Regions from separate parts of the Homo sapiens genome. Here regions 1, 2, 4, 5, 6 and 7 are each linked to region 3. Evidence: promoter capture Hi-C in 16 types of primary human blood cells and fetal thymus (Javierre and others, 2016). All regions are on one chromosome and are shown on one strand. Each heading gives the region's core, a stretch centred on a gene start or on the middle of the fragment in contact. The rest is flanking DNA. Distances are from core to core; before and after follow the strand shown.

Evidence for each region. Contacts are between HindIII fragments. The CHiCAGO score rates a contact against its expected background, and 5 or more counts as called.
Region 1: a contact is called between a fragment that was not itself captured here and the fragment with the promoter of GMNN in region 3, in 1 of 17 cell types (neutrophils). The highest score is 5.2, in neutrophils.
Region 2: a contact is called between a fragment that was not itself captured here and the fragment with the promoter of GMNN in region 3, in 2 of 17 cell types (neutrophils and naive B cells). The highest score is 6.7, in neutrophils.
Region 4: a contact is called between a fragment that was not itself captured here and the fragment with the promoter of GMNN in region 3, in 1 of 17 cell types (naive CD8 T cells). The highest score is 6.2, in naive CD8 T cells.
Region 5: a fragment that was not itself captured here is called in contact with the fragment with the promoter of GMNN in region 3 in 2 of 17 cell types (neutrophils and naive CD8 T cells); the score reaches 5.6 in neutrophils.
Region 6: a fragment that was not itself captured here is called in contact with the fragment with the promoter of GMNN in region 3 in 15 of 17 cell types (neutrophils, naive CD8 T cells, M2 macrophages and 12 more); the score reaches 18.9 in neutrophils.
Region 7: a contact is called between a fragment that was not itself captured here and the fragment with the promoter of GMNN in region 3, in 1 of 17 cell types (neutrophils). The highest score is 6.4, in neutrophils.

What each region holds. Positions count from the first base shown.
Region 1 is chr6:24,618,555-24,622,509 of GRCh38, forward strand. All of the region lies in intron 1 of KIAA0319, which reads right to left. Among named protein-coding and RNA genes, the nearest start is that of KIAA0319, 26 kb to the right of the region's middle. The HindIII fragment of the contact is 441 bases long and covers 2,116-2,556 here.
Region 2 is chr6:24,975,857-24,979,663 of GRCh38, forward strand. It overlaps a transcript of RIPOR2 not described here and the pseudogene PPIAP29. Among named protein-coding and RNA genes, the nearest start is that of RIPOR2, 42 kb to the left of the region's middle. The HindIII fragment of the contact is 193 bases long and covers 1,981-2,173 here.
Region 3 is chr6:24,772,299-24,776,265 of GRCh38, forward strand. GMNN (geminin DNA replication inhibitor) reads left to right here and starts at 2,639. Exons shown (of 7, transcript NM_015895.5): 1 at 2,639-2,946. RefSeq lists an enhancer at 3,554-3,633. The HindIII fragment of the contact is 2,242 bases long and covers 1,560-3,801 here.
Region 4 is chr6:24,549,658-24,553,342 of GRCh38, forward strand. KIAA0319 reads right to left here. Exons shown (of 21, transcript NM_014809.4): 20 at 1,777-1,868. Among named protein-coding and RNA genes, the nearest start is that of ALDH5A1, 57 kb to the left of the region's middle. The HindIII fragment of the contact is 7,406 bases long and covers 1-3,685 here.
Region 5 is chr6:24,598,142-24,601,644 of GRCh38, forward strand. KIAA0319 reads right to left here. Exons shown (of 21, transcript NM_014809.4): 2 at 2,908-3,067. The coding sequence starts at 2,962. It also overlaps the pseudogene KRT8P43. Among named protein-coding and RNA genes, the nearest start is that of KIAA0319, 46 kb to the right of the region's middle. The HindIII fragment of the contact is 2,210 bases long and covers 814-3,023 here.
Region 6 is chr6:24,996,948-25,000,624 of GRCh38, forward strand. It overlaps a transcript of RIPOR2 not described here. Among named protein-coding and RNA genes, the nearest start is that of RIPOR2, 63 kb to the left of the region's middle. The HindIII fragment of the contact is 8,245 bases long and covers 1-3,677 here.
Region 7 is chr6:24,948,979-24,952,745 of GRCh38, forward strand. It overlaps LOC105374981 (a long non-coding RNA gene), which reads left to right. Exons shown (of 3, transcript XR_007059514.1): 3 at 119-1,513. It also overlaps a transcript of RIPOR2 not described here. Among named protein-coding and RNA genes, the nearest start is that of RIPOR2, 15 kb to the left of the region's middle. The HindIII fragment of the contact is 4,936 bases long and covers 1-3,767 here.

The DNA of each region.
Region 1 (3,955 bases), core at 1,086-3,585, 150 kb before region 3:
TGATCACACCACTGCACTCCAGCCTGGGCAACAGAGCAAGACCCTGTCTCAAAAGAACAAAACACCCCCAAACAACAACAACAACAAAAACACACAAAAAGTACAAAACACACAGGCAACACAAAGAAAAGCAACAGAAAAGAAAGACAAGAGTATTAGGTCCCAAAGATTTCAGATAATGGAATTCTGGCATATAAATATAAAATGAAATGTTTAAAAAAAAAAAGTAGTAGCAAGGTACAAGACTAAAAGAAAAAAAAAGATCCTGGCAGATTTGAAAAATAACCAAGCACAACTTCTAAAAACAAAAAGATTTTTGCTATTAAAAGCTCAATGGATGGGCTAAATAGCAGATTAGACACTGCTGAAGAGAGAATTTTTGAACTTAGAAGGTCACATTTGAGCAAAGACTTAGGAGAGATGAGGGAGTGAATCATGTGGACAGCTGAGAGGAAAGAGTTCCCAGGCAGAGGGAAAAAGAAACACAAAGGCTTGAGGCGGGGAATGTGCCTGTGTATTGCAGGAACAGCAAGAGGGTCAGCATCGCTAGAAAAGGGAAAGCACTAGAAGGTCAGGGTGGGGGACAATGGGAGGCTGTATTATAGGTTAGTATGAAGGATCTTTGGCTTTCACCATGAAACTGGAAATGTTTCAGGATTAGCTCCCTCGGGCTTCTGCGTTGAAAAGAGAGTATAGCAATCAAAGGCAGAAATGGAGAGACAAGTTAGCAGCTTCGGCAATAATCCAGGTGAGAGGACGGTGTCTTGCACCAAGGTGATAGTAGTGAAGGCCCTGAGGAGTCAGAGCCTTGATTTATTTTAAGGTAGAGCATATAGGATTTGCTGATGGATAAGATGTAAGGTGTGACACAAAAACAAGAGTCCTAGATGACTCTGAGCAACTGGAAGAATGGGGTTGTCATTCTCCAAATGCAAGAGATATCTAAGTGGAGCTGCTGAATAGGCCACAGGATAAATACGTCCAGGGTTCATGGGAGAGAGGGCTGGAGACATACACTGGGAGGCATCATTGTGTAGCTGGTATTCAAAGCCACAAGACTGGTTAACACCACCAAGAGAGTGAGTGACAATGGAAAAGGAATGTTCATGCTTGAGGGATGAACTTGAGTAGAAAGAGTGAAAATGCACGAGGGGGGAAATGGCCTATTTTCAAAATATTCCATGAATATGTCTCACCTAGTCACATGCATCTGCAGAGAGACCTTAAGGTGCAAGGGGGAGAAACTTAAAATAAAACAGTGCCTTCTGATCTTGAGAGTGCCATATTTTGCTGCAGCAGGCGTGCAAATCACACTATAGCAATTCCCTCGCTGCTTCAGCCAGAGCAAACCAAATATAGTTCCAGCCTGACTAAAAAGTGCCGACCATCTGAAATGACAATCACATGGATCCCATTCGCTGTTCATTCTAACACTGCTGGATTAATTGGCCTAAAATCCTGTTTTGTGTTTCCTTGGTCAATAATATGCTACTGAAAATAAGTTAGCAATTTATTTTCAATATATTTTGCCAATATTGGTCGGGAGTAGTGGAGTCAAGCTTCCTGAACTTGATATTCAGACATGAAAAAAGTATGCAAAACTGCTTCACAAATTTTTTTAAAAATCATTTTTGTCACCTGGACTGTGGCACTCCAGAACTTGGTTTTAATCTTAGCTAAGAAGATCCCAAACATGAGGCCTCTTCAATTTTTATATATAAAAAAAGGAAATGCTGACTATCCCTAGTTGTGTTTTTGTTTTTTGAGACGGAGTCTCACTCTGTCGCCCAGGCTGAAGTGCAGTGGCATGATCTCAGCTCACTGCAACCTCCACCTCCTGGATTCATGCAATTCTTCTGCCTCAGCCTCCCAACTAGCTGAGATTACAGGTATACACCACCACGTCCGGCTAATTTTTATATTTTTAGTAGAGACGGGGTTTCACCATGTTGGCCAGGCTGGTCTTGAACTCCTGACCTCAGGTGATTTGCCTGCCCCGGCCTCCCAAAATGCTGGGATTACAGGCATAAGCCACTGCTCCCGGCCCCATACTTGTGTTTTTGCTTTTTTTCTATCTTCAATCTTTCCCTAAAGACAACTGTATTAGTCTGCTCAAGCTTCCATAAAAAGAAAAAAGTACTATAGAGTCGGTGGCTTAAATAACGGAATTTATTTTCTCAAAGCTCTGGAGGCTTGAAGGGAGTATGCTAATTCTATTGGATAAAGGCCCCACCCTTATGACCTCATTTAAATTTAATTACCTCCAATAAAGTCTTTACCTCCAAATATAGTCACAGGGGTTGGAGCTTTTAACATATGAATTTTGGGAGACACAAACATTCATTCTATAATAGCACCTATGCGTATGCCTAGGAATGCAGCTGACTTCCTACTGCCAATTCAAAATAAGAAACAGAAACTATGTGGTATCAGCCAGGGTGGGCATGGAAGAAAACTGAGAAGCATACAGTCACACCTACTTCCCTTTTAGGGAGTCCCTGTCACATCCTGCTCATCCTCCCATCATCTCCCTTCCATTATGTTTCCACAAACCCAAGCTTCCAAATGAAGGTGTTGGCTGATATTACTTATTTAAGCCTCAAGGTCTTATTCTTTCTTAGGACGTTAGCATTTTCATCTGGAGATTCCTGAAGACAAAAAGGTATTTCAGGTACCTTTGACAGATGATGGTATGGGAGATATTTGGGAGATGGGCGAGTATCTTATGGTTCTCTACTCATAGTTCCTTAACACACTCACTTTATTATTGAAGCTTGAGAGAAGCAGGGTGTTGCAGCAACAGACCAAGCCCCCAAGTGTTCATTAAAAAGAGAATTGAGCTCTCTAAAGAGGCAGATCATGGAGACAAGAACCACCATTATTCCAGGGGACATCCAGAGACACAGCCCACACAAAAAATATATTCATATTAATCTATCTGGGAGGAAATTGGCATCATTAAGAAAATCTTGGAAAGCTCAAAATAAAAAAGAAAACTTTCTAGTTCAATATGGCAGATAGATGTATATCCAGCTCTCCTCTTTCCTGTGCATGGTCTTACTGGGGGGAAAAACTGTGAGGGGAGGCAAACAGGACATAAGAACAGACAAAAGAAAATAAACCATAACAACACAGGAAAATAAGAATGGACATCATTAATAGACCAATCATTTCAAAGAATTCCTGGAAGATAGAAAGCAGATGGCATGGCTCTGACTGGAAAGGAAGAGAGGAAACTCATTTCCTAGAAAAAGGAAGAACAGCACTTTTGGTGACAGCACTGGAGAAGCTCCAAGCCCTGAGCCAATGGATGCAAAGAGACAGAACCGGCCAAGGCACAATCGTTGGGGTGATCACCAAACGAAAAACAGATCTCAAGCTAAAGCCAGAGAACTGCTCTCTCAAGAGACGGAGATCTACCTCCATGGGGCCCTGGTGGCAGCACTGGGCCTGGGAGAAAAGGAGAGTCAACAGAGTCTGCGAATGCACAGCTCTGCCCTGGAATGAAATCTACTTTATTCTGAAGCACCACACCTCTAGGCAGAGCTCTCCTTCCAGTGGCTGCCTGGGGAGTGCTCACCCGTACACCCCAGAGGGAAACCTGACCAGACACCTCCCACTCATGCACTCAGATGCCACAGCAAGCCTCACATGAATCAATGAGTGGACAGCTACGTCAGAAAGCAGCCAAGTATCCTGATCAGTGGAGCCCCTCACAGATCAAAAGGAACAGGCAACCAAGGACTGCTAGACATTTGAGAAATTAAAAAAAAAAAAAAAAAAGAACATGAAAAAGAAAGGCTATGATAAACAAATAGAAGATTAAAGGAACAAAGAAAAACTTTAAACCACAATTAATATCAATAATTAAAATAGTAATTAGTATCTTTGGAAAAATTTGAAAGGATATTGCCTCCATAAAACAAAAATAGGCTGCTACAAATGAGGGGCAAAA
Region 2 (3,807 bases), core at 827-3,326, 200 kb after region 3:
TATCAATCATACCTCAGTAAAGCTGGGAAAAAACAAACTTCTAGAGATTGGTTGGTTGTATAACAACGTGAATATACTTTAGCACTATTGAACTATATACACTTAATGATGATCAACATGCTAAATTTTATGTGTATTTTGCCAGAGTTAAAAATTTTTGAAAAGAGAAAAGTGTCAAATTTATTAACACCTAAAGAAATGCTAGCGGAAAGGTTAACTGGTTCAGCCTTTTTGGATGTCATATTAGTAACATGTTAAGATAATTTTTAAAATTCATCCTTTTGGTGGAATAATTTTATATCTAGAAAATAACAAGGAAAAAGAATATGTGCAAACATACTCACTATGGCATTATTTATAATGACAAAAATTGCCGACAGCCAAATGTATGACAATAAGGAAATAGTTACATATATTAGAACGTATATATGCCTTGAAATATTGTGCAACCACTTAAATTGTGTTTTTAAAAATGACTAAATTATTCTAGAAAATATGATATTAAGAAACGAGAAAAGGCTTTGCAGACGCCGCCGCCGAGGAAAACCGTGTGCTATTAGCCATGGTCAACCCCACCATGTTCTTCGACATTGCCGTCGACGGTGAGCCCTTGGGCCGCATCTCCTTTGAGGTAAGGGGCCTGGAAACCAAGAAGTGACTGCTCATCTAATCCATAAAGCTATGTTAACAGATTGGAGCTGTTTGCAGACAAGGTCCCAAAGACAGCAGAAAATTTTCGTGCTCTGAGCACTGGAGAGAAAGGATTTGGTTATAAGGGTTCCTGCTTTCACAGAATTATTCCAGGGTTTATGTGTCAGGGTGGTGACTTCACACGCCATAATGGCACTGGTGGCAAGTCACCACTGGGAGAAATTTGAAGATGAGAACTTCATCCTAAAGCATACAGGTCCTGAAATCTTGTCCATGGCAAATGCTGGACCCAACACAAATGGTTCCCAGTTTTTCATCTGCACTGCCAAGACTGAGTGGTTGGATGGCAAGCATGTGGTCTTTGGCAAAGTGAAAGAAGGCATGAATATTGTGGAGGCCATGGAGCGCTTTGGGTCCAGGAATGGCAAGACCAGCAAGAAGATCACCATTGCTGACTGTGGACAACTCGAATAAGTTTGACTTGTGTTTTATCTTAACCACCAGATCATTCCTTCTGTAGCTCAGGAGAGCACCCCTCCACCCCATTTGCTTGCAGTATCCCAGTATCTTTGTGCTCTTGCTGCAGTTCCCTTTGGGTTCCATGTTTTCCTTGTTCCCTCCCATGCCTAGCTGGATTGCAGAGTTAAGTTTATGATTATGAAATAAAAACTAAATAACAACAACAACAAAAAGAAACGAGAAAAAACTCACTGCATATATATAGAATGACACCAATTTTGTGGCAAATAAGCCATACATATAGAAAAAAATACCAAAAATCATGGTAGGGTTACCAATGTTTTCAATTTTTTTTTTGCTTGAAACTTCTCTGAATGTCCTAAAAGGTCGACAGGACTATGTGTCCCCCCTTCCCTTTTTTTGGTATGCCTTTTAAATCATAATAAAGGTACATGTTTAATTTAAAACAGAGAAATTCAGAACACAAGCCACTTTCAACTTCATCTAAGAGCCTATTCTATCAGATACATAACAGGAAACGGAGACCAAATATTTATCTCCAATATTGAAATAAAGCATAGTAGTTCCATATTTTATTGTTCAAATATAAGAAAACTCAGGAGAATCATGTAATAAACATTTTCTAGTTTTGCTAATAATCTCGATGGAAGGAAAAGAGCCAGGTCCCGTCACTGGCCCATCAGTGATGGGAGGGTAGCTATGGTCCTGTTGAAAGGCTGCCCTGATGTTTTGTTGGTTTCTGTAAACATCTGGCTCTTGAAATCCTAATTATTCAGGATGTAAAAGTTTTGAGAATTATAGTCATCAGAATTTCCAAAAAAGTTGTAATGTTTATTGAAGGGCAGAGGAAGCTTCCCTCCCTACCTCCATGTATTCATCTAAAGCTGTGATATCAGCAAAGGATTTTGGGTGGCCAGCCTGAATGTCAGTCAAAACTCCACGGATATAGGGATAACACAAGGGCAGTCAGGGCCAGGTGTTTATATTGAAATGAGCCAAGGAAGGAAAAGCAGCATTCAGTCTGTTAAGCTGTGTGAATTGAAGCTTTCCTGCAACTGCCAGAGTGGGATTTCGATCTCTCATTAGAATAAGTAAGAATAAGTAAGAAAACCTTTTAAAGTGAGAACTGCTTTAAAAACTACTGTATTGCTCAAATATGAATCTAGTGTGAGTGAGTCTTTTTCATTCTACGGGCTTTGTTTTTCAGGCCAGCTTATTGGAGTTGCAGAAATATTTTTGTTAAGCTGAAGGTCGCCACTGGCACGGTTTTAGGCATATCCCTTCACTTCACTGAGCCTGAATGTCCCCGTTTCCAATGTGAGAGTGCTTTCAAGTTTTAAAATTATAGAATTCACTGAAACAAGCATGTTTATTCACTCCTCTCTGTGCCGCCATACTGCTCGCATGAGTATATAAATATATATCACTTTAAGTAACTACTTTAGGATCAGGGTCTTATTTATACCAAAGGTCTTTGCATGTAAAAGCCAGTTGGCTCAACCAAATGGCCAAGAAAAGATGTCCCCTTCTCTCCCTAACCTCCATGTATCTTCTCATACCAGATGGTACAATCTCTGAAATTCCATCTTCAGAGGGTTATTATTTAGGGTTAAGTTTGATCCTTTTTTTGGTCACTAATGCTTCATGGTGAATGGAGGTTGGGAATATTGCTCTGCGATAAGACTGCCTAGGTTTGAATCCTAAATTCTACTTAGTTGTGAGGCCTTCGGCAGGATATTTAATCAATCTATCCTTTAGTGTCCTCATTCATAAAATGGGAATAATTTTTGTTCCACTGTCATAGGGCTGTTATAAGATTTAAATAGATGAAACATGTAAATTCTCAGTAAACATTCATTCCTACTTCATCTGGTGGGAGAATTTCAAAGCCAAGTGAACACCTCAGGCCAAGATGTGAAAAGGTCCCAGAATGGAAATCGTGACAGAATGCTAGTGATATAAACCTCACCTACTGCATATATTAGCTTAGGCCTGGGGTGCACACTACTGAGACTCACATATTTTTGGAGAAAGGTTTAACATTATTTTCTCTATTTCATGAACTACTTCCTTCTCATCCCCAACTTCCTTTTATAATTGGCCTCTCAACATTTTCTATCACTCCTTATGAGATAATGAGAAACAATGGGCTTAACTTTCCTCTCTCAGCTGTCGTGCATCCTATCTATAGGTTGCAAAGATCCCCTCTCTGCTCCACTCCCACTGGTCTATTCCTGGGAAAACCGAAAACCAAAGAAGGAACATGCAATAGTTGCTTGAAATGATAGGGAAATTCTTTTTTTTTTTTTTTTTTTTTTGCTGTTTCCTTAGCCCTGACATGACATTCCTTTTCTGTTTTTAAAAGACACAACACTGCACATTAACTGTCCTGTGGGAGAGACCACACCCTCTTCCAAGTCATCCCAGTCCACATCAGAAATGTGTCTTCTGCAAACCTGACACAAAAAGCTCCCCATTTTGAAAAGGTCCTGATAGAATTAATATGAATTGAATCGCATTCTTTTTACTGTAACCAACTATCTGGTGTTAAAAAAGACTTTTGCAGAATTCTGGGCAAGAATTATTAATGCATGTTAATGGGAAGCCTCCAGTTCTGCTTTGCTGGGGAAGGAAAGGCCAGCTCTCACAACTTCCTCCACACCATGTTGGGACCCA
Region 3 (3,967 bases), core at 1,389-3,888:
ATTATTCTTTTTTTTTTTCTTTTTGTTTGAGACGTAGTCTCACTCTGTCGCCCAGGCTGGAGTGCAGTGGCGCGATCTCCGCTCACTGCAAGCTCTGCCTCCTGGGTTCACGCCGTTCTCCTGCCTCAGCTTCCTGAGTAGCTGGGACTACAGGCACCTGCCACCATGCCCGGCTAACTTTTTTTTGTGTTTTTAGTAGAGATGGGGTTTCACCATGTTAGCCAGGATGGTCTCGATCTCCTGACCTCGTGATCCACCCGCCTCGGCCTCCCAAAGTGCTGGGATTACAGGGTGAGCCACTGCACCCGGCCAATCCTGAGTATATTATTCTTAACATCATCTGAGTCTCAAGTCCCAAAACCTTCATTAGTAATGTGTTTCATCATTTCACTTCTCTTAGCTGTGCTTATACTCATCAAAGAAATGGTTTGTCAAAAAATAAATTGGTGCAATGTAATTATTATTTATCCATCTGAATAAAAATAAAAATAAAAAAATTGGTGTAAATATTTGTGGTTGCTAAAGTTTTGTTTTGTTTTGTTTTGTTTTGTTTTTGAGATAGAGTCTCACTCTGTCACCTGGGCTAGATTGTGGTAGTGTGATCTTGGCTTACTGCAACCTCCACCACCTGGGTTCAAGCTATTCTCCTGCCTCTGCCTCCTGAGTAGCTGGGATTACAGACGCATGCCACCATGCCTGGATAATTTTTGTATTTTTAGTAGAGACAGGGTTTCACCATGTTGGCCAGGTTGGTCTTGAACTCCTGACCTCAGGGTGATCCGCCAGCCTCAGCCTCCCAAAGTGCTGGGATTACAGGCATGAGCCATGGTGCCTAGTGGTTGCTGAAATTTTTATGGCTAAACATTTTCCAGTATTTCTACCTCCTTATCCCATCATTTAATCCTTTTTAAATTAATATTTTAAAAATTTTATTATTGGCCAGGTGCAGTGGTTCACGCCTGTAATCCCAGCACTTTGGGAGGCCAAGGTGGGCAGATCACACGATCAGGAGTTCAAGACCAGCCTGGCCAACATAGTGAAACCCTGTCTCTACTAAAACTACAAAAAATTAGCTGGGTGTGGTGGCGGGCACCTGTAATCCCAGCTACTTGGGAGGCTGAGGCAGGAGAATCGCTTGAACCCGGGGGGGGCAGAGGTTGCAGTAAGCCGAGGTTGCACCATTGCACTCCAGCCCTGGTGACAGTGCAAGACTCCGTCTCAAAAAAAAAAATTATTATTGAAAATCCCAAACAGATATAAAAGTAGAGGGAGTGAATAAAAAATCTTCATGTACTCATCCATACTAGCCTCAGCAGTTATCAACACAAGGCCAATACTGTTTTATTCGCACCAGTGGTTCTCAACTGGGGATGATTTTGCCCTGCGGAAGGTTATCTGACAAGGTCTGCAGACATTTTTGGTCTTCACAATTGGGATGTACTCCTGGTAGCTAGAGGGTAGAGGCCAGGGATACTGCTAAACAGCATACAATGCCCAGGACAGCCCCCACCACGAACAATTTGCCCAGTCTAAAATGTCAATAGAGCCCATACTGAGAAAGCTTGATTTATACCTTTTCCCTTGCTTCTCTCAATAATTATTTCAAATAAAATATATGGTATAAAATTTCATCTGTAATTACCATTTATAGGTAGAAGCTATTACAATAAAACCCACAATATTGTCATTACAACTAATCTCTTTTTTTAACCCATTGCTCATCAGGTAACCTTAAACAACTCATATCTTACCATCCCAAAATATTCAGTCAGTGTTCAAATTTCCCTTGGGTATTTTTTTAAATACAGTGTTTAGTTCAGACGAGATCCATACATTGCATTTGGTAATATGTCCCTTATTTGTACTCGATAACGCCTTCCTTCTGCTTTTTATTTTTAAAATATTTTAAAATTAATTTTTTTTTGAGACAGGGTCTCCCTTTGTCTGTAGTCCCAGCTACTCGGGAGGCTGAGGCAGGAGAATCGCTTGAACCCGGGAGGCGGAGCTTGCAGTGAGCCGAGATCGCGCCACTGCACTCCAGCCTGGGTGACAGAGCGAGACTCCGTTTCAATTAAAAAAAAAAAAAAGAAGGAAAAGGCTAGACGTAATTATTACCAAGGTGTTTCTGCTCCTTCAAATTGCAACAGCAGTTGTAATTTCAGTGCCTAGAACAGTAGTAATTGGCACGTATAAGGCGCTCAATGAATAGCTGCAGGATTAACTGATAATCGGTTGTCTCCTGAACAATTCCTACCGCACCACACCATAGTCAAAACACAAAAAGCCAAAATATAAAAGCCCCTAATACAACTACGAGTCCGTGGAGCCAGGGCTTTACACAAATATATGTCGTGTACTACATATTAATATATATGCACATACAATATTTTGTTCTTCTGGTGCTAACGACTAATGGAGGCAAATCTTTCTCCCTTTCGTAAAGGGCTAAAACTTTGCATTTTAAGGAAGTTCCAAGAGCAGGGTCGGAGGGGAGGGTCAAAGGGCACAGGCCTCCCAGCCCGCAGAAAACCCCCACGGTCCTCAAGTACTCGCTACCGTTGACCGCGCAGGCGCAGGAAGGGGCGGGGCCGAGGGAAGAGGCGATTCGCGGGATCCAGAGGCCCCGCCCCTCGTCTGCGTCAGTTGGTCACGTGGTTGTTCGGAGCGGGCGAGCGGAGTTAGCAGGGCTTTACTGCAGAGCGCGCCGGGCACTCCAGCGACCGTGGGGATCAGCGTAGGTGAGCTGTGGCCTTTTGCGAGGTGCTGCAGCCATAGCTACGTGCGTTCGCTACGAGGATTGAGCGTCTCCACCCAGTAAGTGGGCAAGAGGCGGCAGGAAGTGGGTACGCAGGGGCGCAAGGCGCACAGCCTCTAGACGACTCGCTTTCCCTCCGGCCAACCTCTGAAGCCGCGTCCTACTTTGACAGCTGCAGGGCCGCGGCCTGGGTAAGGGCGAAGGGGTTGTTGAACGGTCGCGGGAGCCGGGGCGGGGTTGGGAGGTGAGTCGAGGGACTGCCCCATTGGCTGGGTCGGTTTTGGCGCGCTCTCACTTCCGCGCTTCCTATTGGCTGGCTGGCGCAGTTCCCGAGGCGCGCGCCGCGGTTGGTAGGCTCGGACGCGCGGGGCCACACTGCCCGCCCCCTAGCCTGGCGCTGGGCCTCCGGGACAAGTTGGCTGGGTCCGGGCTTGGGGACTGCAACGCGGGTAAGGGACTCAGCCTGGGCTTGCCAGCTGTGGGGATGAGGCGAAGCATCCATCCTCTTGGCAGTTAAGTGGCTGGTCCTGATCTGAGGGATCTGCAAATTTGGCTCATGGAAAGAGGTGGCTGAATTCTGCGTCTCCCATTAAACGGATACTGGCGTTGTTGATACGGGTTTCGCATGGACCCTGTCCTGTGCCAGGGTTTTTAATCTAGCTATTAAAGGAACTGGAGAATAACAAGTAAGGGTTGCAAGGTCGCTGACAGGCGTGGGAAACTTGTGAAGGATTAGAATGCTAAGTGGCTTTCAGCTTTTTTCACACTAAGGTACGTTTTACGTCGCAACCTAGGACACAGCTATCTAACCAAATGAGACGTGATGGAAGCAATGTTTCTCGTCTCTTCAATTCCATTCTGTTCAGTTGCATTTTTCTAAGCAGTGTTGCTCATGACTCACTAATTTCGAGATCACGGCCCGCGACCCGCAGTTTGAAGAACATTGCGTAGGGTCTGTTTACTGGGGCCCGAACACCATTTTCTTAACATGAAATAGAGTAGAAAATAGCAGGATGCCCGCACAAATTAGATTGTTTTGTTTTCTAAGCTTTTTTTTTTTTTGAGACGGAGTCTCGCTCTGTTGCCCAGGCTGGAGTGCAGTGGCAGGATCTCGGCTCACTGCCACCTCCACCTGTCGGGTTCAAGCGATACTCCTGCCTCAGCCTCCCGAGTAGCTGGGACTACAGACGAGCACCACCACGTCCGGCTAAT
Region 4 (3,685 bases), core at 533-3,032, 220 kb before region 3:
GGGGATAATCATTGCACATACCTCGTACCGCTATGGGCAGGATTAGAATTCAATGGGTAAAGTACTTGAGATGTACCTAGTACATATTCAACATTAAATACCTGTTTATTATTACTATTAGTTCACGGGTGAAACTGTAAGGACCTGAACTGGGGTGGTGATGGTAATGACGAGGAAAGAGGGCAAGAGTCTAGCAAGTGCGGGTGTCTGGAGTGGGGGGCGGTGTGTGTGGAGCACCAGCGACTGAGGTTTCAAACTGGGGCAGTGAGAATGGGGGTTCTATGAATAGAAACAGGAATGTCAGAAGGATGAGTGTATTTTAAGACAAAGATGGGTGAGATAATGCAACCTAAAGCACGTTGAGCTCTTAGGTAAACGTCACTATAATACTTCTGATATTATGCAATGCAAATGGTGAGCACTCAATGTATGCCACTATTTGTTCTTCCTGTGAGGCTCTTCCTGCCAAAGCCCTATTAGCTACACTCTCTGTACACGATCAGTCATTCTGACCTGAGTGTTCCTACCCGGCATCGTCCATGCACTGATAGAACTCCTTGCACTCCAGTATAATTACCCTCCCTCAGGCTGTGAGCTCCTGTAAAGGCAGGCTCTGTGCTTCCTCCTCTCCCAGTCTCCAGGGCCTAACCCGGTGCCTGTGCACAAGGTAGGCATTCAACACTCACTGTGAACAATGTTTTGCACCTCACAACTCTGAAAAAGATTATATCTTCCATAAAAATTATCTTAGTCATAAGCCCAGAATTATGGAAAATCTATAGAATCGGTGTTTAGCAGCCTCAGAGGGCCAGAGAAGTTTCATTAAGTATGCAACAGTTAATAAACGAGAATGAAAAAGTTAACCGAGGTGGGCAACAGGTGCTCCTAAGCATAGGGATCAATACACTTTGTGAAGAAAGTCAATTTTCTGTAAAGCCTTTGTGTCCATCTTTATCAATGGCTAATTAGATAACGCAGCTGCTGAAAAATGTTAGGCTTTAAAGTCCAAATGTCCTCTTGCTGCATTTCTGTCCTAGCAGACCTAAAGGGAACAGCGTTCAGAGCTGAGCTGTGGGAGTGTCTTCAACTGCCCCCACCCTCCACCCGCGAGTAGAAAAAAAAGCAGGTGCTGGGGACATCTCTGTTTAAAAAGCAGTCTTTGCCCTGTGGTCATTGGTAGGTGCCCAGCTGATAACATTTCATATCCCTCATCCATTAATGCCTCAAAGTATTACACCAAAATTTCATTAAATTTATAATGAACCCACTGCCTTCTGCCCCCACCCCCGCATTAGCATATCCTCAGGATTGATGAAGGTTATTTTTCTTTTTCTTTCTTGAGACAGAGTCTCAGTCTGTAGCCCAAGCTGTAGTGCAGAGGTGTGATCTCAGCTCACTGCAACCTCCACCTCCCAGTCTCAAGCTATTCTTCTGCCTCAGCCTCCCGAATAGCTGGGACTACAGGCGCACACCACCACGCCCGGCTAATTTTTTTTTTTTTTGTATTTTTTAGTAGAGATGGTGTCACCATGTTGCCCAGGGTGGTCTCGAACTACTGAGCTCAGGCGCCTTGGCCTAAGTGCTAGGATTACAGGCATGAGCCACTGGGCCCGGCCTGAAGGTTGTTTTTCATCACAGAATCCCAGCCTCACTCTTCCTTCCCAATTAAAGTGCTGACTCCAGCAAATCGTTCTCCCTCTATCCAAGTTAGCCCTCAGGCCTACCTAGGTTAAATCATATAAAGGTGCCAGGCAGTCATTCTGCAGACTGTCTTACCATATTTGGGCCTCAGTTCCATTCTTTCCTGTTCATCCATGTTATCCAGGATGGTGTACTTTGTTTTTTTCCTGATTTTAGTCCTTTTTTGTCTGAAAGGAACAATGAAAAGCTCAACTCAGATCTTTAGAAAGGTAACTGAGAGCTAGGATTTAACGCACAGTAAAGACACTAAAGGAAACATTTTGCCTTTATGATGTGATAGTTGGCGTCTTTTATTAAAGAAACATACACAAGGCCAGGTCAGAGCTCAGAGGGCCATTATGCATCTTGGAGAAACACATTTCTGGGTATAAACAGCCACATCACTCTTGCCCACCTATCTACAGGTCTCAGCTAAGCCTCAGGCTGCAGTGCCAATTCTCAACACTTGTGTGTTGGCCCAGGGAGCTCTTCTTCCTGAGTAATTCCTTATTCAGAAAAGCCTGGATGAGCAAATGTTCCCCTGAACCTGTATCACCCTGCTATGTCCAATGCTGCAGTAATGAAAAGGTGTCATGAACTAGCAATCAGAAAAAAATAGCAAAAATTATAATAAATTCCCACAATTAATTAGCAACAGCTGCTCCCCACCTTTTTCTTTTTTTTTTTTCCTCAACACATGAAAATTATGCTGGTCCCATGTGCCTCATCCTATGTACAGAGACTATTTGAAAATACACATCCAAACCATGCCAAGGCACGCAGAGAACAAAATAGTAATTTCATAGTAAAAAAGCAATATTCTGGGAGCATGATGATCAGAAGCATAGGTCTCAATTTAGCACTTGCTAGCTGGTGACTTAGAGAAAATTAATTGAGACTTTTGTGCCTCCATGTCCTCACCTGTAAAATGGGAGTAAGAATAGTCCCTTTCTCACATGGTTGATGAGAGGACTGAATAAGATAATACAAACAAAGCACTTAGCCATTAATCACAATGGCAAATACTTCATAAATGTTCACAGTTATCACTACTAGCATCATCATCTTCTACTTGATAGACATGTCACAAAGCTGCAGATGTTTAATGCCATACACAGTAGGGTCACATATGGCTCTGGGAAAACTTAACGGGATTTAGGCCTCTAAGTGCCTGCACCTGGCTCCCTTTCACCAGTCTTACTTTGGGAACGTAATCACAAATAAAACCAAAATAATCTATAAGTGATTTCTGAAAAATAACTATTAAAATACACTCCTTTTTTTTGAGATGGAGTTTTGCTTTTGTTGCCCTGGCTGGAGTGCAATGGTGCAATCTCAGCTCACTGCAACCTCTTCCTCCCGGGTTCAAGCGATTCTCCCGCCTCAGCCTCCCAAGTAGCTGGGATTACAGGCATGCACCACCACGCCCAGCTAATTTTGTATTTTCAGTAGAGGTGGGGTTTCTCCATGTTGGCCAGGCTGGTCTCCAACTCCTGACCTCAAGTGATCCACCCACCCTGGCCTCCCAAAGTGCTGAGGTTACAGGCATGAGCCACCTAGCCCAGATTAAAATATACGTTTTTTAAAAATCACACCTTTGGAGAGCAGTTACAATGTTTCACATGAAAGAGTGGACCTGATGCTCTCTTCTAAGGACAGAGGGTTGAGCATGGGGTTCTGGAAGATTTGGCCAGTGAGGTAGCTTGAGGCTTCTCAGGGGTCAGCTCCATGGAAAAAGGAAACACCTAAAGCAAAAGTTCTCTTTGGCGGTGTTATTGCCTCGCTTACAGTTTCAAATTTATTAAAAATGATTCAGGTGGATTCGATTATTGCTTTACATAATGAAAATAATCAAAACCTACCATTTGTAACAGTATACTTCCAGAACTCCTTCCTCTATTGAGACCTGTAAGGCCACTTAGGTACTTGTGAGATAGATATATATATATATATATATACACACACACACACACACACACACACACACACACACACACACGCACAT
Region 5 (3,503 bases), core at 669-3,168, 170 kb before region 3:
GCAGCAGCTTCCAAGGTGGCCTGGGCACCAGTATGGGTCTGGGTGGAGGCTATGGCGGGACCAGTGGTATGGAGGGCATCACAGCCATCACAGTCAACTAGAGCCTGCTGAGCCCCCTTAAGCTGGAGGTGGACCCCAACATCCAGGCCATGTGCACCCAGGAGAAGGAGCAGATCAAGACCATCAACAACAAGTTTACCTCCTTTATCAACAAGGTATGGTTCCTGGAGCAGCAGAACAAGGTGCTGGAGACCAACTGGAGCCTCCTGCAGCAGCAGAAGACAGTTTGGATGAATGTGGACTGCATGTTCAAGAGCTACATCAACCTATGGCAGCAGCTGGACATGCTGGGCCAGGAAAAGCTGAAGCTGGAGGCCGAGTTTGGCAACACACCAGGGCTGGTGGAGGACTTCAAGAACAAGTACAAGGACAAGATCAATAATTTTACAGAAGGGTGGGTGCGGTGGCTCACATCTGTAATCCCAACACTTTGGGAGGCCGAGGTGGGTGGATCACCTGAGGATAGGAGTTCAAGACCAGCCTGACCAACATGGTGAAACCCTGTCTCTACTAAAAATACAAAAATTAACTGAGCATAGTGGTGGGTGCCTGTAATTCCAGCTACTCGGGAGGCTGAGGCAGGAGAATTCCTTGAACCCAGGAGGCAGAGGTTGCAGTGAGCCGAGATCATGCCCCTGCACTCCAGCCTGGGTGACAGAGTGAGAAGACTGCATTTAAAAAAAAAATAAAAAGTAAAAAAATAATTTTAGCGATGGAGAATGAATTTGTCCTCATCAAGAGGGATGTGGATGAAGCTTACATGAACAAGGTAAAGCTGGAGGAGTCTCGCCTGGAAGGGCTGAATAACGAGATCAACTTCCTCAGGCAGCTGTATGAAGAGGAGATCCAGGAGCTGCAGTCCCAGATCTGGGACACATCTGTGGTGCTGTCCATGGACAACAGCTGGTCCCTGGACATGGACAGCATCATTGCTGAGGTCAAGGCCCAGTACAAGGAGATCACCAACTGTAGCCAGGCCGGGGCTGACAGCCTGTACCAGGTCAAGTATGAGGAGCTGCAGGCACTGGCTGGGAAGCACAGGGATGACCTGTGTTATACAAAGATGGAGATCTCTGAGATGAATCAGAACATCAGCCGGCTCCAGACTGAGACTGAGGGCCTCAAAGGCTAGAGGGCTTCCCTAGAGGCCACCATTGTGGATGCGGAGAAGCGTGGGGAGCTGGCCATTAAGGATGCCAATGCCAAGCTGTCCAAGCTGGAGGCCACCCTGCAGTGGGCCATGCAGGACATGGCATGGCAGCTGCATGAGTACCAGGAGCTGATGATCATCAAGCCAACCCTGGACATCGAGATTGTCACCTACAGGAAGGTGCTGGAGGGCGAGGAGAGCTGGCTGGAGTCTGGGATGCAGAACATGAATATCCATACAAAGACCACCAGTGGCTACTCAGGTGAGCTGAGCTCAGCCTATGGGGGCCTCAGCTACAGCCTGGGCTCCAGCTTTGGCTCTGGCGGGTGCTCCAGCTCCTTCAGCAGCACCAACTCCTTCAGGGCCATGGTTGTGAAGAAGATCGAGATTTGTGATAGGAAACTGGTGTCTGAGTCCTCTGATGTTCTGCCCAAGTGAATGGCCACAGCAGCCCCTCCCAGCCTACCCCCTCCTGTGACTGCCCCAGAGCCTGTGGGGGAGGCCACTGTGCAGGGGAGCATAGGGAACAGGAGACCCACCTGAGGCTCAGCGCTCGCCCTCAGCCGACCCGCGGGAGAGTTCACTGCCTGGGGTATCCCCCTTTGCCCATGCCTCCAGCTACAAAACAATTCAATTGGTTTTTTTCCAAAATAAACCCTCAGCTAGTTCTGCCAACTGCCCAAAAAAAAAAAAAGGAAGATGAGCAAATTGCAAATAACATTTATTGGGATGCAATAACTCAGGAATTGATATTTTGAATTAAGGGAGAATACCTCATAAGAAAAGGGCAAAAAGGAATGAAAAAGTAGAGATTTGCAAAGGAAAAAATATGGGTCTCTAAACATTAATGACATCATCTAAAACATTAATGAAGGTATTTTCTAGAGTATATTAAAGATGAAATAAGGGGACATTTTTTCTTACACACTAAGCAGGAATGAGTTTAATAAGATGGATGGATGGAGGGGAGTAAGTGATCTACAAGTCATGATGGGCTTTTCCAATGGCAATACTTTCTGGAGTGGCCCTCACATCATATAAAATGGTGCTGCCCAAAATTTGGGTGCTTCTGAATCATCTCCAGGTGCTGCTGAAAACCCAGATCCCAGAGCCACATCCCTAGGAGGTCTGGAGTGTGGCATGAGAAACTGCATTTTAACAAGGGTCTCGCTAAGGTTATCTTCATTATGGCTGTGTTACATTTGGACAAACTGTACATAACAGTTTTTCTAGTCATATCACCACCCTCAATCCTTGGTATACTCACATGGGCTCGGCCAGCCCAGTCTAGTCATGGGTCTTCTTAAATGATGCTCACCAGTGATTTTTTTGCCATGAGTGCATCCACCATAAGCAAACTGAGTATAATGAAAATAAAGATTTCTGATAAAAGGAAGTCTGGCCTTTCCAGCCAGATCTAGTATGCAATTCTTTTCAATATATAAACATAAAGTTTTCCTAGTATATATGAAATGTGATTTTATTTTCCCATGGAATAGTCATGATAAAAATAAACTTAAATTCCTGTTTACGGAAAACCACTCATGCATGAGGTCTGCCTTTCATGCTTTCACCTGTAAAATAATTCTATTGAAAAGCAAACCAACAGCGTCTTCACCTCAGGTTGATCTGAGTTGCTTACACTAGTCAAGAAACTCAAGTCCAACACGGGTATCTCCAGGGTAGTAGTTCCCTACCTGCAATTGTCACCAGCAGCAGCAATGAAGAGAGCACACCTGTGGGGGGCGCCATTGTGCACCACACAGTGGGTGATGGCAGGCTTCTGAGGCGGCCCTGAAGAGAGTTTGGTGCAAGCTTCCTTTGATGTTTTTTAGGAGCCAGATTTGGCCTCAAGAACTTCAAAGGAAAAACATAAAAGAGGAAGGAAGAAAAGAATAGGTAAATGTAGAAACATCCAAAATTATTTCTATCATTCATTCATGTCAGTGGGAAGCCTGTCCTGGTCACATCACAGAGCCACAACCCAGGCAAACATCCACCTAGAGCGTTTGTTCAAATAGCCAGTATAGTTCCTAAGAAGAGCCAAAGAATTTCATGCTTACTCTCCTTACAAGCTGTGGAAATAAACGAGGACCAGTCAAATGAGAAAAGCAAAGGCTATTTATTCAGAGCTTGTTATAGAAAGGCAGTCAGCCACCATCACTTGTTTTTGGCAGAGACTCAAAGACAGGCAGAGGAGTGGGAAAACTTTATAGCAGAAAAAGAGAAAGCCTCAGGTGTGCTCTAATTGGAGGCTGTTGCAGTGGGAAGCTGCAGGCAGCTCGCTAGAAGT
Region 6 (3,677 bases), core at 202-2,701, 220 kb after region 3:
TATGGGTCTAACTTGTTTTGGAATGGGTTTTCCTTAGGGGCAATCATACATACGCTGAAGCGGCTACAAGTGTTCCTTCTCAATCTCACAGTTTCAAATGTGAATTACTAACTAGCGAGGATGGAGTCCAATGATTTTCAACCTTGTCTGCTCATTGGGCTCACCTGCAGAGCTTTTAAAACTCCCAACATGCAGGCCATAGCACACAACAATGAAATCAGAATCTCTGTTGGTGGGATGCAGGCATTTGTGTTTTAAAAAACTCCCCAGGTGATTCTAATATACAGTTAAGCCTGAGAACCACTAGTTTGAGTGTTCCTAGGTAGTTAATTTAAAAAACCTTTTCCTGTATGCTCACTATGTAGTAAACACTGCGTTAGGCATTTGGAGGGGAGGTGGGGTGGGAAGGTAGTATTTGGCCCAGAAAGAGGAAGAGCCTCAGAATTTCTATATTAGACATAGTGCTTGCTTTTAGGAAACTGCAGTCCTTACAGCCTCCATGAGCAATAGCAAATGGTGATGGTATCTAAATTGTATGGTTTAAATCAAGGTTTCCCAACAGTGGTATTTTGGGTTAGATAATTCTTGATTGTGGGAGGCTGTCCTTGGCATTGTAGGATGTTTTGAAGCATCTCTGGCCCCTACCCACTAGATGCCAGTAACAAGCAAAAGCACTCCTCACTTCCTACTGCCACAGTATATAACAACCAAAAATGTCCAACATGTCCAAATGTTCCCTGGGAGTAAAGTCATCCTTTGTTGAAAACCATTGATATAGAGCTCAGTGTAGCATCCTTTGCAAGACCCCCAGGTGATCTGTATGCACATTAAAGTCTGAGAAACACGCACTGGTTTAAAGCAGTGATTCCCGAAGTGTGGCCCGTGAGCAGCATCAGCATCATCTGGGAACTTGTTGGAAATACATCCTCAGTCCCCACTCCAGACCTACTGAAACCAAAACTTTGCTTCGGTAAGTCCTTTGGGTGATTCTCACACTTAGGTTTCAGGGCCACTAACTAAAGGGGAAAAGGAGATTGGATGCACTGGAGCAATCAAAAAAGTCTTAGGAATAGAGCTTGATTTGGGCCTTGAAATTGAATAGGCGGTGGGGAGGGTATTCCAGGTGCAGAGAACAGCATGAGAGAGGATTTTCAGATGTAAATTAGCCCACACTCTTAAACTGCCAAGCCCCTCTTTTTCTCCTTTTCCCCTTAACTTCCTCAATCTGTTTGTTTTCTTGTGTTTTGGATAGAAAACGGTCTCCTCTGCAATTTATACTCCATGATGTGTTCATCAGCTTGCTCAAGTAATTCTTTGAGAATCTCAACAAAATGATCACTTGCAAAAACACAGGAGTGTGTTTTTGAAAAGTTGTGAATAATCAAATTTACCATCAGACATATGTACAAATCAGTACATATTTACAAATGTATTTCTCATTTACAAGGATTTTATATTGCAAACCATTTTTATAAAGTTAATAGCAATCCCCCAAGGGATATTTTTGGTGACTATAAATACAGATGTTTCTATCAAAAAATCTAGCATCCCAAATCTACCCTCAAATCTGCAACTAGAATGATATTTCTAACCCAGAAAATCTGATTCCTTTGTTTCCATGTTCAAAGCCTTTCAACGTCTCTCCATTGCCCCTATACAAAATGCAAACTGCTTACCATTTTTCACATGATTTTTTACCACCTGGATCCTATATATTTCTCATCTATAGACTATGGGCAAAAAAAATCTACAATAAACAAAATATCAAAAAATTAGGTGAAGACAGGCTGCTGTTATTTGTTTTATGACCCTGGGTTATTGTGGAACAGGAATTCCAATCGGCCCAAGGTTGGCCAGGACAGACCTTGTCAATGAGAGTTGACAATGGCACGGGAACAGATTGGACAATGTGGAACTTTATATGCAGTCATTTTTTTTTTTTTATTGTAGAGCTTGTATTGACTTCTTCCACAAACTATAGGAACATTTTTGGGTGAATGTACACTATAGGGATGCATATTCCTTTTGCCTCAGGCTCCAGGGTGACTCCACATAGCACTGAATCAGAGTGTTCCTTCCTCCTAATTGATCTGGGAGATCAAATGAAGGCTGATAGGGAATCTTGGGGATGTTGATTTGGATGTGAGACAGGAAACTTACAGGGTGGTTACAGGAGAATAAAAATTCCAGGCAGCAGTTTCACATAACTAGAGGCTATGGGCTGATAAGACCCTGAAAAACCAGGTGTGGACCAAGCTGACTGAGACTGACTGGACCCAACATGGAGCTGGATCCTACTTAGGTTTCACCTAGGACCTTATTATATGCTCATTAACATACAAATCACACACCTGCCAGTGCCATGACAGTTCCAAGAACATCTATACTTGCTGGAAAAGTGGGCGGCATGACAATTCTGAGAAATCTCCACCTTTTCCCAGGAATTTTCGTGAATATTCCACCCCTTGCTTTGGTTAAAGAAACCCATGAAGGTAGCAACCCCAAACCCCCTTGTGCATGACTCTTGTCTACAACCACATTCCCTTCTCTTGAGTGTGTAATTTTCCCTCTGCAACAAATCTCTGTACTTTCACTATTTTCTGACTCATCCTTTTTTTTTTTTTTTGAGACAGAGTCTCGCTCTGTTCCCCAGGTTGGAGCACAGTGGCATGATCTCGGCTCACTGCAAGCTCCACCTCCCGGGTTCACGCCATTCTCCTGCCTCAGCCTCCCAAGTAGCTGGGACTACAGGCGCCCACCACCACGCCTGGCTAATTTTTTTGTATTTTTAGTAGAGACAGGGTTTCACTGTGTTAGCCTGGATGGTCTTGATCTCCTGGCCTCCTGATCCACCTGCCTCAGCCTCCCAAAGTGCTGGGATTACAGGCATGAGCTACCGCGCCCAGCCCTGACTCATCCTTGAATTCCTTCTTGCAACAGTGTCAAGAGCCTGGACACCAGCTGGAGTCGAGGTCTCAACCATGTTTGGGGACCTCTCTGAGCCCATCAGTATCAGGTGGTGGTGAGAGAAGGTCAGCCAGCTGACTGAGATTTTTAGCTTCAAGTATGCCTTGCCCAATTCCTTGCCACCCTTCATCTTTTGCCTTCATGGCCCCAGCCACCCAGGGCCATTTGCATATCCCCAATACCATGGTCTCTCTCAAGTCTAGTCCTATGCACACATTGGCACTCTTGCCTAGAAGGTTCTTACTGGTGTCTTTTCACCTGGACAACTCTTACTTTCACTTCACTCTCCATTAGAGGTTGCTTCCTCCAGGAACCCTTTCCTGACCAATGAAGGTGTCAGGAAGTTTGGGCATCCTTCATGTTAGCTCTGTAGCACTCCATGCTGACCACTCGCGAAAACTCACACAATGCACTCCAATGTAAGAGTTCACCCATCTTCCTCCCCGACTGTACTGTCAGGTCTGTAAGGGCAGGGAGTGTATCCTGTGCACTGTTGTATCTCCTGAGCCCAGCCCTGTCCCTGACACATAGTAAGTGCTCAATTAGTCATTTATTAAATGAATAAGTGAACTCATGAATATCTGGCTTGAGGGGTTTTATATCTGTATTTTAATCTACAGTTAATGCAGCACTTCTTTTTCCCAAACTAAAATTAATTAACAATGTTAGGCTACATTGTTCATGTTTTACATACAGCCAGCCTCTATTTT
Region 7 (3,767 bases), core at 1,155-3,654, 180 kb after region 3:
GTTCCCTGACTTCTCTTAGGTGTCAAAAACAATCCAGGGCTCATTTCATCTCTGTACATCCATGTCACTCTCTCCTCCTTAACTCTTCAAATAGTATCTTTTTTTTTCCTTTTCTTAGAACCATATCTGGTGTGACAACAATTTGAAAAGCGCCACCCATCCTCTCTGAGACCACAAACAGCGCTGAAGGCAGTGAACCAAGACTTACAAACAAGGGTGTAGACCAAGGAAAATGCTGGGGGCCAGAGGAGGAGAAAGCAAGAAGATAGAAACACCATAGTTTCAAGAGGGAGGGGAGCAGAAAGCCGCCAGCTCTCCAAAAAACAAGAAGCAAAACCCAGAACTCAAACCTCATGAAAGTATCACGAGGTTGAAGCCTTTAAAAGGTGTTTTTACAGCAGATTTTAGAGACTTCTCACCTTACCAACGGTTATAAACCCGTATCCTTGCAAATTCAGCAGTAGAGTCATTAGATTGCCCTCTCAGCCTCTGCACGTGAAGGGTCTCAGGGCTTTTCAGGACATCTTTAGGGTCAGGTTTCGTGAAATAGGTAGGTTGGGCCAGCTTTCTGGGGACTCTAAGCAACCTTGGAGAAAATGGGCAGGAGTAAATAAAGGTATGCCAGCTTGCTTTTTCCAGTGGGGACTTGGCAAATGCCAAAAACAGTATAAATATTATATTCCCATCTTCTAATATCATGGAAACCCATGGTGGCAATGGGGCGCAGGGCTCACTAGCCACCCTGAGGTGAAGAAGTGGCCCCTCAGAGATCTGAAGCTGGTTAGCAAGAGTTCACCAGGGCCTAGCTCCTTGTCCCTCAGGGAAAGCCCCTGGGTGCTATAGCCCACCACCTGGAAGGGGCAGCCCCTGGAGAAATGTTAGAATTCTGGGTGAATTATTTTCTTATGAAATTTCATCCAAAGTTTTAACAAAGTACCAAATAGGAGAGTTGTTAAGTATTGTGAGTGAGTGAGGTGGAGGAAGCAGAGCGGGGAAGGGGTGGCTCCACTCTCTCACTATATTCACTGCTCATCCTAGAGATGACCTAGTGTCAAAAACGTTGCAAATGCAACCAGCTGCCTGTTGCATCCATGTAGTTCAGTTGTTGCTATTTACAGGGTAGTATAAATGCCCGGTGCTGCTATGAACCAAGGTGCTGAGTATCAAATGTTCCTGGAAGAGCACCTAGTAGTGTTTCATTGGATGGTTTCTAGTAAAAACTTTATGCAAAAGTAATATGGTATTGCTGATTATAGGTATTATCTGATAATAATAATCCTGTCAAGTACTTGCTTGGGCCAGATCACTCTGTGAAGGCAGAAAGTTGGCAATGCTTGTCTTAAATGCAAGATTCTTTCTCTTTTCTTCCTCCCTCCCTCCCTCCTATTCAACCATCCTTTATTCACCCTTGGAAAAATTTGGGCTCTGCATTCACTCTTGCACAATCCTGTAATCTCATGGTTTACTTTATGATGACAATATTAATGACAATAAAGGCACATTTTCCCTAAGATACTTGGGAGTATGTGTGGCTTATCCTTCTGTTTTCCTTACGAAGTAAAAGGGAGCTCAGTGTGTCTGTCCTCACTTTACTGATGCAGAGATTAAGGACAAGGAATCTAAGTGAATGGGCAGTAGGGGACATGAAACATGGCAGGGTCACCGGAGCAAGCCAAAACACTTTTGAAGAGCCAGTGAGTCAAACCTGTGGAAACCTATGCCAGAAAGTTCTTACAGGGATGACTGAACTGTTCCATCTGAACAAAAAGAAAATATATTCATTTAAACAAGCCTAAAGTGCAGCTATCTAACAGGCGAGGTGGATGGGGTTGGGTGCATAGGGTTTGCTGCTTTAGTGCTGATTTCTCAAATCTTTTATTTTCTCTGCTGACCTCTGCAGTACCATAGAACACAGTCCAGGCATTAGACTTGCAGCCACAGGATCTAGGTCTTGTGTGTCAGTTTTGAAGGCAGCATGCCCTGCTAGACTGCGACATCCTAGAAGACAAAGGTCAGCCAAGATCTTTGCGTGAGGCCTGATAGAAATCAATGTTCCAGACATTTTAAAAATCAATGACTTCATTGATTTCCAGAAGTTCTCTAGGCAAGAGCGATCAGAGACTTTAGAAGTTCATATCAACATGGAAGTGGTAGAATGACACCTGAGAGAGTAGTGGGTGGTCACCAGGTCACAGGTGTCAGGGTGATCGGAACACTCTGCCCTACAGTGACCTTTGCTCTACCTCCCAATATTAGGCAGAGGAACTACCATTACACAGAGCCTGATTATGGTTTTTATGCTCAGGAGAACTTGTGTTGTCTTCTAAGTGCTGCAGCCCCCAGGTTTTTTGTAAGAGAGGGGCAAATAGACATTTTCTCACGTAAATTAATCAGCTCATTCATGAGTTTTGCAGTCGAATCGCTGTCTTTGCATGGTGTTGTCTGCCAACTAATGGAATAGGGGGTCTTCAAATTTTGTTGACAAAGATAAGACTTCCGTAAAAGGATCCCTTCAAAAGCAGCTTAAAGAGAATTCCGAAGCAACTGTGCTTATAACAATAAATGTTTCTCCATCACTTTCTTTCCAGTTCCTTTGCCTCACGCTTCTGCTACTCTAGTTGTTTTTCCCAGTTTCTCTCCTGTTTACATGCGCTAAAAGAAAACTGTGTAAGGCACTTCATAGGAACATTAAAAACTGGTACAAAGGAAATGTCATGGTTGGTGGGGCGGAGTTTTTAAAGGTTTGGTGAGAAAAAGAAATCCAGACCTTGCTTCTGGCATTTTCTGGGTAGGATTTTTTCACTGGTCCCTAATTCACAGAATAATCAGCTTTGGCAGCAATATTTAGTTCTCCTTTCTTTCTACACACTGGGATGAGGGCATATGAGAACGGAACTTGTGGTAAAGACTACCTTGCCACAACAGGACCCCACCCTGCTTACCTTCCGCTGGATCCACAGTAGTCGTAAATATGTAGTGAATTGTAAATGTGGGGCTTCCTGTATTCTGCAGTGGACATTGCCACACCACTGTCTCCAGTGGAATGAACCAGAATGTAAAATTTATACCTCTTTTGAAATGCGATGGAGCAACATAGGATGACCACATTTTTTCTGTACTATATTGCACTCTTTTGCACAATGTGTAAGAACACAACATGAGAAACCCACAAAGAAGGAAATAGAACAACTGAGGTTGTTGGCTGGGTAGGCTGCAAGGTAAAGCGCAGAATAGTAAATGCCCCACCTAGCCAACATCCTCTGCCAGCTGTTATTCCTGTCACCTAATCTCTACTGCTCTCTCTCTATTATTCTTTCCTATCATCCATCCATTCATCCAGCCAGTCAGACAGCATTTACTGGGGATCCTGTCATGTTGGCTGCTGGGGATATAGACTGCGAGTAGTATGCTGGTAAAAACTAAATAACTAGCTCTGAGGTAAGGGAGCTGATTTGCAGTGCTTATGGATTTTCATAGTGCTAATACTCCCACCATGACTAATTTCAAGCTACTAATGCAACATCATTGAAGCAAAGTTGGGAAGAGATGCACAGTAGCACACCATTTCCACCAACCAGATACAATCGATGTAAATAACCTCCAGTGCACAGATAATAATAAAAGGTAGTAATGAGGAGCTGATGAGTATTGAGTATTTATTAGCATTGTTTTAAATGTAATTTATTTAATTGCACACTTATATAATTTAATTTTAAATCATGGCTGTTTTAACAAACAGCTCACAACATTTCTGAAACTAACAACTG